Regions from separate parts of the Homo sapiens genome. Here region 1 is linked to region 2. The links are contacts of gene promoters, found by promoter capture Hi-C in blood cells and fetal thymus (Javierre and others, 2016). All regions are on one chromosome and are shown on one strand. Each heading gives the region's core, a stretch centred on a gene start or on the middle of the fragment in contact. The rest is flanking DNA. Distances are from core to core; before and after follow the strand shown. Region 1 overlaps JPT1 (Jupiter microtubule associated homolog 1). Region 2 holds the start of CDR2L (cerebellar degeneration related protein 2 like).

Evidence for each region. Contacts are between HindIII fragments. The CHiCAGO score rates a contact against its expected background, and 5 or more counts as called.
Region 1: a contact is called between a fragment that was not itself captured here and the fragment with the promoter of CDR2L in region 2, in 3 of 17 cell types (naive CD8 T cells, naive CD4 T cells and total CD8 T cells). The highest score is 6.4, in naive CD8 T cells.

The regions. Positions count from the first base shown.
Region 1 is chr17:75,136,506-75,139,723 of GRCh38, forward strand. All of the region lies in intron 4 of JPT1 (Jupiter microtubule associated homolog 1), which reads right to left. LOC107985034 (a long non-coding RNA gene) reads left to right here. Exons shown (of 2, transcript XR_007065907.1): 1 at 1-3,218. Among named protein-coding and RNA genes, the nearest start is that of NT5C, 6.4 kb to the left of the region's middle. The HindIII fragment of the contact is 1,866 bases long and covers 591-2,456 here.
Region 2 is chr17:74,985,927-74,989,140 of GRCh38, forward strand. It overlaps CDR2L (cerebellar degeneration related protein 2 like), which reads left to right and starts at 1,706. Exons shown (of 5, transcript NM_014603.3): 1 at 1,706-2,196. The coding sequence starts at 2,118. RefSeq lists an enhancer at 1,544-2,045 and silencers at 1,612-1,691, 1,712-1,801. The HindIII fragment of the contact is 10,272 bases long and covers 1-3,214 here.

The DNA of each region.
Region 1 (3,218 bases), core at 274-2,773, 150 kb after region 2:
TGTTTTTTGACGGAGTCTCGCTGTTGCCCAGGCTGGAGTGCAATGGTGCAGTCTTGGCTCACTGCAACCTCCACTTCCCAGGTTCAAGCAATTCTCCTGCCTCAGCCTCTCTAGTAGCTGGGATTACAGGCGCCTGCCGCCATGCCCGGCTAATTCTTGTATTTTTAGTACAGATGGGGTTTCACCATCCTGGCCAAGCTGGTCTTGAATTCATGACCTTGTGATCCACCTGCCTCGGCCTCCCAAAGTGCTGGGATTACAGGCGTGAGCCACCGCGCCTGGCCCAAGGACATGAAGATTTTTAAATAAGAACAGGGAACTCTAGCTCTACGGCCCCTTCCAGCTCCGGGTGGATCCTGCTCCCCCTATTCCCAGAGGTCCCACTGCAAGTCCTGTGCAGCCTTCTAGTCCACTTGTTTTATGTATATTTACATGTAGCCAGATAACATGTAACATGTTTTGGTTATATTTAACATAAATGGTATCAACTTCTTTTTTTCACTCTTGGAAATGTATCCATATTTACAAACAGGGTAGTAATTCGCCTTGCTTATTAACTGTATGTTTTCAAATCCCTCACCTCACTGTCAAGCTTCATTGCTTTATAGTAATTATCACATGATATAGGCTATTTATCCAATTCTCTGACAGCAAAAAAACTGGAACCCATCCAATTTTCCAAATGAATTGTCTCTCATTAGGGTTGTTTCTAAACCGGGAAAAAACTGATTCAAAGTGCAAAGTGAATGCAAAAATTCTATATTTTCTATGAAAGGAAACTTTTACTAAGAGCTTAATAGTATACATATTTTTAGTTTTTTTGTTTGTTTGTTTTTTGTGGAGGGGTGGGGTGGCAGGTGGAGGATATTGAGACAGGGTCTCACTCTGTGGCCCAGGCTGGAGTGCAGTACCTCAATCACAGCCCACTGTAGCCTCAAACTCCTGGGCTCAAGCAATCCTCCTATATCAGTCTCCCAAATAGCTGGGACTACAGGCGCGCACCACCACAACTGGCTATTTTTGTTTTTTTTTTTTTTTTATTTTTAAAAGATGGGGTCTCCTTATGTTACCCAGGCTGGTCTCAAATTCCTGGACTCAAGTGATCCTCCCATCTCACCCTCCCTAAGTGCTGGGATCACAGGCATGAGCCACCTTCACCCTTCACACAGCCTAGTTTTCCTTTTTTTTTTTTTTTTTTTTTTTTTTTGAGACAGGGTCTTTAACCTCTGCCTCCTGGGTTCAAGCAATTCTCCTGCCTCAGCCTCCCGAGTAGCTGGAATTACAGGCATGCACCACCATGCCTGATTAATTTTTGTATTTTTAGTAGAGACGGGGTTTCGCCATGTTGGCCAGGCTGGTCTCAAACTCCTGGCCTCAAGTGAGCCACCTACCTTGGCCTCCCAAAGTGCTGGGATTACAGGCATTAAGCCACTGCACCCGGCCTAGTTTTCCTTTTTTTTCTTTAGTTGAGATGGAGTTTCACACATGTTGTCCAGGCTAGAGTGCAACAGTGCAATTTCGGCTCACTGCAACCTGTGCCTCCCGGGTTCAAGCAATTCTCCTGCCTCAGCATCCCAAGTAAGTAGCTGGGATTATAGGTGCCCGCTACAACGCCCGACTAATTTTTTGTATTTTTAGTAGAGACAGGGTTTCACCATGTTGGCCTGGCTGGTCTTAAACTCCTGACCTCAGGTGATCCAACCTGCCTTGGCCTCCCAAGGTGCTGGGATTACAGGCGTGAGCCTCCATACTGGGCCTTAGTTTTCTTTTTAATAGCAAGTTTATTTCAGTGTTAACCAATCAAATTCAGTTGCATATTCTAAGATATTCGTAAAAATATTTCATAGAATCCCTTTTGCCTGAAAAGGCAGTAAGGGCAGTTAATAATGCTCCTATATTAATGGATTTTTTTTTTTTTTTTGAGACTGTGTCTCATTCCATCGCCCAGACTGGAGTAAAGTAGCGTGATCCTGGCCCACCACAACCTCCGCCTCCCAGGCTCAAGCGATTCTCCTGCCTCAGCCTCCCAATAGCTGGGGTTATAGGCGCCCGCCACCATGCCCAGCTAATTTTTTGTATTTTTGTAGAGACCAGGTTTCACCATGTTGGCCAGGCTTGTCTCAACCTCCTGACCGCAAGTGATCCACCCACCTCAGCTGCCCAAAGTACTCAGATTACAGGCGTGAGCCACCATGCCCGGCCAAGAAGAGGTCTTTAACACTTACTCTCAATTCATGTACTTATCTCATGATAGGCTAGAAGCAAACAAACCTCCCTCTTCTGTGGCTGCAGTATTTCTCATTGGACAGACATTTATTTTATTTATTTATTTTTCATGCTTTGTTAATGTTAACATACTACTGCTGCTTTTAACATTTCATGAATTTCTGGAACATTCTATGGGAGTAACATAAAATGTTCTATACTATTTAACTACAAGCAAAAATAGAGTATGAAGCTTTTCAGAATGACAACTGTCACAATTATGAACTAAAACTCAGAGAGGGTCACCCATTAGTTTCCTTGGTTACATCCATTGTAAAAGAAGCAAGATCAAATGCACTGGATCAGACACACAAGTCCTACAATAAGTGTCCCTGAAATAACCTAAATATAATTGTAAATATAAAAGAAAAACAAAACTCCACATTTAAAATATTCAAGATAAAGAGAATTCGGACTGAGACAACTTGTTAGTTCAAGCAGTTTCATTTCTGCTGGTGGGACATGGCCTCCTGCTATACATACAGGATCTACTGAAGTCTTCATTCTCTCTCTGAATCCAGCAGTTAATGAACATTCTGAAGAACAAAAAATTATCTTGCAGTCCTGCCATAGTGGTTTATTTTCATAAAATCCTCTTCAGATGAATCAAGCTCAATACTACTAATCTTATATTTGTCTTACATTATTACTAGAACTGTTTTGTTTTTCACAAATACATAACATACTAATAAAGAAGAAGAAAAAAATAAAAAAGCACCTATGGAGACTAAACAAGCAGCAGTAGGCCTTACTTTAAATGTCTGTCCAGGCCAGGTGCAGTGGCTCACACCTGTAATCCCAGCACTTTGGGAGGCCAAGGCAGCTGAATAACCTGAGGTCAGGAGTTTGAGACCAGCTTGGCCAACATGGTGAAACCCCGTGTCTACAAAAGTACAAAAATTAGCTGGGCGTGTGTGCGCGCCTGTATTCACAGATACTCGGGAGGCTGAGGC
Region 2 (3,214 bases), core at 456-2,955:
CTGGTCTTGAACTCCTGACCTCAAGCGATCCACCCTCCTTGGCCTTCCAAAGCGTTGGGAATTACAGGCATGAGCCACCACGCCCGGGCAGTTTTCTAAAGTGGTTGTCGTCCTATGTATTCCCTCCAGCAGGGTGAGAGAGTTCCAGTTGCTCAACATTCTTGCCAATACTAGGTATTTTTTGTCTTTTTTTTTTTTTTTTTTTTTTTTTTTTTGAGACAGGATCTTGCTCTGTCACCCAGGCTGGAGTGCAGTGGCATGACCACAGCTCCCTACAGCCTCAACCTCCTAGACTCAAGCAATTCTCCCACCTCAGCCTCCCAAAGTATCTGGGACTACAGCCGTGTGTCATTATGCCCACCTAATTTTTATTTTTAAATTTTTTTATAGAAATAGGATCTTGCTATGTTGCCCAGGCTGCTCTTGAACTCCAGGCTCAAGTGATCCTCCCAACCTCGGCCTCCCCAGAGTTCTGGGATTATAGGCATGAACCACCACGCCTGGCCTTTTTTTTTTTTTTTTTTTTCCCTAAAGCCACTCTGGTGATTGGGTAGTGATACCTCATTGTGGTTTTCATTTGCATTTTTCTGATGGCTAAAGAAGTTCAGTACCTTGTTGCATATTTATTCAGTTATTTGTGTATCCTTTTTTGTGAATTACCTGGTCAAATCTTTTACCCACTTTTCTACTGGGTTGCGTGCCTTTTTCTTATGACTATGCAGATGTTCTTTCTGTATTCTGGATACAAGTCATTCGTTGGGTATATCACAACATTATTCAGAGATTCTCAACGGCACCAGCACATTAGGGTCCCAATAAAAATGAGTTACGTGAATGCTTGAGTCCGAACACTCTTCTAAGGAAAGAATGCTTGGACAGATGCAAGTGTGTATAGTTTTAATGGGTATAATTGGATATAGGATATGGGTCCCAAGGAAAGGAAAACAGAACCTTGAATGCAGGTAACACACCCTCAAACTTTGCCACTTTCAGCCTGTGGTTTCTAGCCACAAGCACTTAAACACGCAGTTCCCAAAGGCAACTGTAAATTAGTATTCATTCATTCAAAGAATGTCGATGGAAGGTATCAATGACCAGCATGTTGTTTGTTTTTTGTTTGTTTGTTTTTTGAGGCAGAGTCTCCCTCTGTCGCCCAGGCTGGAGTGCAGTGGCGCTATCTTGGCTCACTGCAACCTCTGCCTCCAGGGTTCAAGCGATTCTCCTGCCTCAGCCTCCCGAGTAGGCATGCGCCACCATGCCCAGCTAATTTTTGTATTTTTAATGGAGACGGGGTTTCGCCATGTTGGCCAGGCTGGTCTCGAAACCCCTGACCTCAGGCGATCTGCCCGCCTTGGCCTCCCAAGGTGCTGGAATTACAGGAGTCAGGCATCGCGCCCGACTGGTGAGCAGCCTGTTCTAGGAAGTGAGTAGCCAGCTGTGAAAGAGAAACAATATTCTTGCTTCCAGGAGATCTAGGAGAGACGACAACTTCTAAAATAGCATAATTTTAGACATGAGACATAAACTGAATAGGTCGTAGGGGGAAGTAGGACGAAAGGGTTGATCAAGCAATTCCCAGACCAAGACACCAGGAGGGTCCCGCCCTCGGCCCCGCCTCCAGCTTTGCATACATCTCCTGATTGGTCGGCGGCGGCAGGCCCCACCCCGCGGAGCCGAGCTCCGCAAGCTGCAGGCGGGCTCCGCCAAGATGCAGCGGCGGCTCCGGTTGTCGCCGGGCGGGCCAGGAGCAGCGCGGACCCGAGCCGGGCAGGGGGCGCCCGCCACGGCACCCGCGCGCTCCTAGCGCCCCAGACCCGCCTGCGGGCCCGGATCCTCCTTGCCACTGTCCCACCCGCCGTCCCTGCCACTCCACCCTTTGTGTCGCCGCAGCCCGGTGCCCCCGGCTCTGCGGGACCCCGGCCGGGCCGGACCCTGGCAAAGCGCCAGGCCCCGCGTGGGCTCCCGGCGAGCGGTTGATGGCGAGGGGGCGCGGCGCGGGCTCTGTAGCCCGAGTTCCCGACGCTGGAGGCCCGGCCCGCCTCAGCCGCATTGTCCCGGGCCGCGCGCACCGGCCCTGAGCTGCGCCGCCGCAGCACCCGCCCGCCGCCCGCGGGGCCATGCGGAGAGCCGCCGGGATGGAGGACTTCTCCGCGGAGGAAGAGGAGTCCTGGTACGACCAGCAGGACCTGGAGCAGGGTGAGCGCGGGGGCGACCGGGACAGGAAGGCGGGGAGCGCCCGGTGACCCCTGTCCGCTTCTCCATTGTTGGGCGCTATCACCCCGGGAGGGGCTGGGCTGGACCGGGCGCGCCCGACTCGGAGGAGGGACGCGTCTGGAGAACCGGGACGTGGAGAGAGGGGGCGCTGCCGGAGAAGACGCGGACCGGACGGGCGGAGACCTGCAAAAGTGGGGGGCGGGGGGCGGTCTTCCTATTTTCCCAGACGACCGGGCATCCGTCATCCAGCTCGCCCACCCCGTCCTGGAGGCAGCAACTGCTCGGCCGCCCCTGGTATTGTTACGGGGCCTGAGCGCTAGCTAGGAGTCTTCTGAGGCCGGGAGGCGGCTCCTTCGTCATGTTTTGCTGGGAGGGTGGCTTGTGTGTAGAGGGAAGTTATCTCACGCCAAATCCAGCAGCACCCGTCCCTGACAGGAATTATGAGCTCTAAGACTCCTAGAAAGTTTCCCTAACTCGCTTCCTACTCAGGGAGAAGTGGTACCGCGTCTTTGCTGGTGAAGAAGCAGAAAGTCAAGTCTCCCATCTGCCTTCGAGAGTCAGGAGTCGCTTAGCCCTCCCCTGCCCGGTCCCCTTGCAAATGGCTCATGGTTTGGAGGGGGTCAGGTTCGGGAATCCCGGCCAGTGTGCCAGGCGAGAGACCGAATAAAGAGGGATACATCTCCGCTGCCCCCAGTTGCCATCTGAGGACAGAAAGGGCGACTGGAAGGGGGTTAGAAGCTGGTGATGAGGTGGCCGAAATGACATCACTGGGAGTGGGGGGTGGGGCTGTTGGGACAGAAAGGAAGAGGAGGCCTGCTGGAGTGGAGTCAGTTCTATCCTCTCCTCCCCTAAGATGCCTCCTTCTTGGATGGTGAGAGCTGGAAGGGGCGAGGAAACATGTCCAGGGAGAAGTGACCTTCCCATGGCCTCCAGCAAGCTGGGGGGTGTGGACATAAGTCTGCTGCAGTTTGTGCCATTGTGGCCTGCTGTGGTGTGCCCA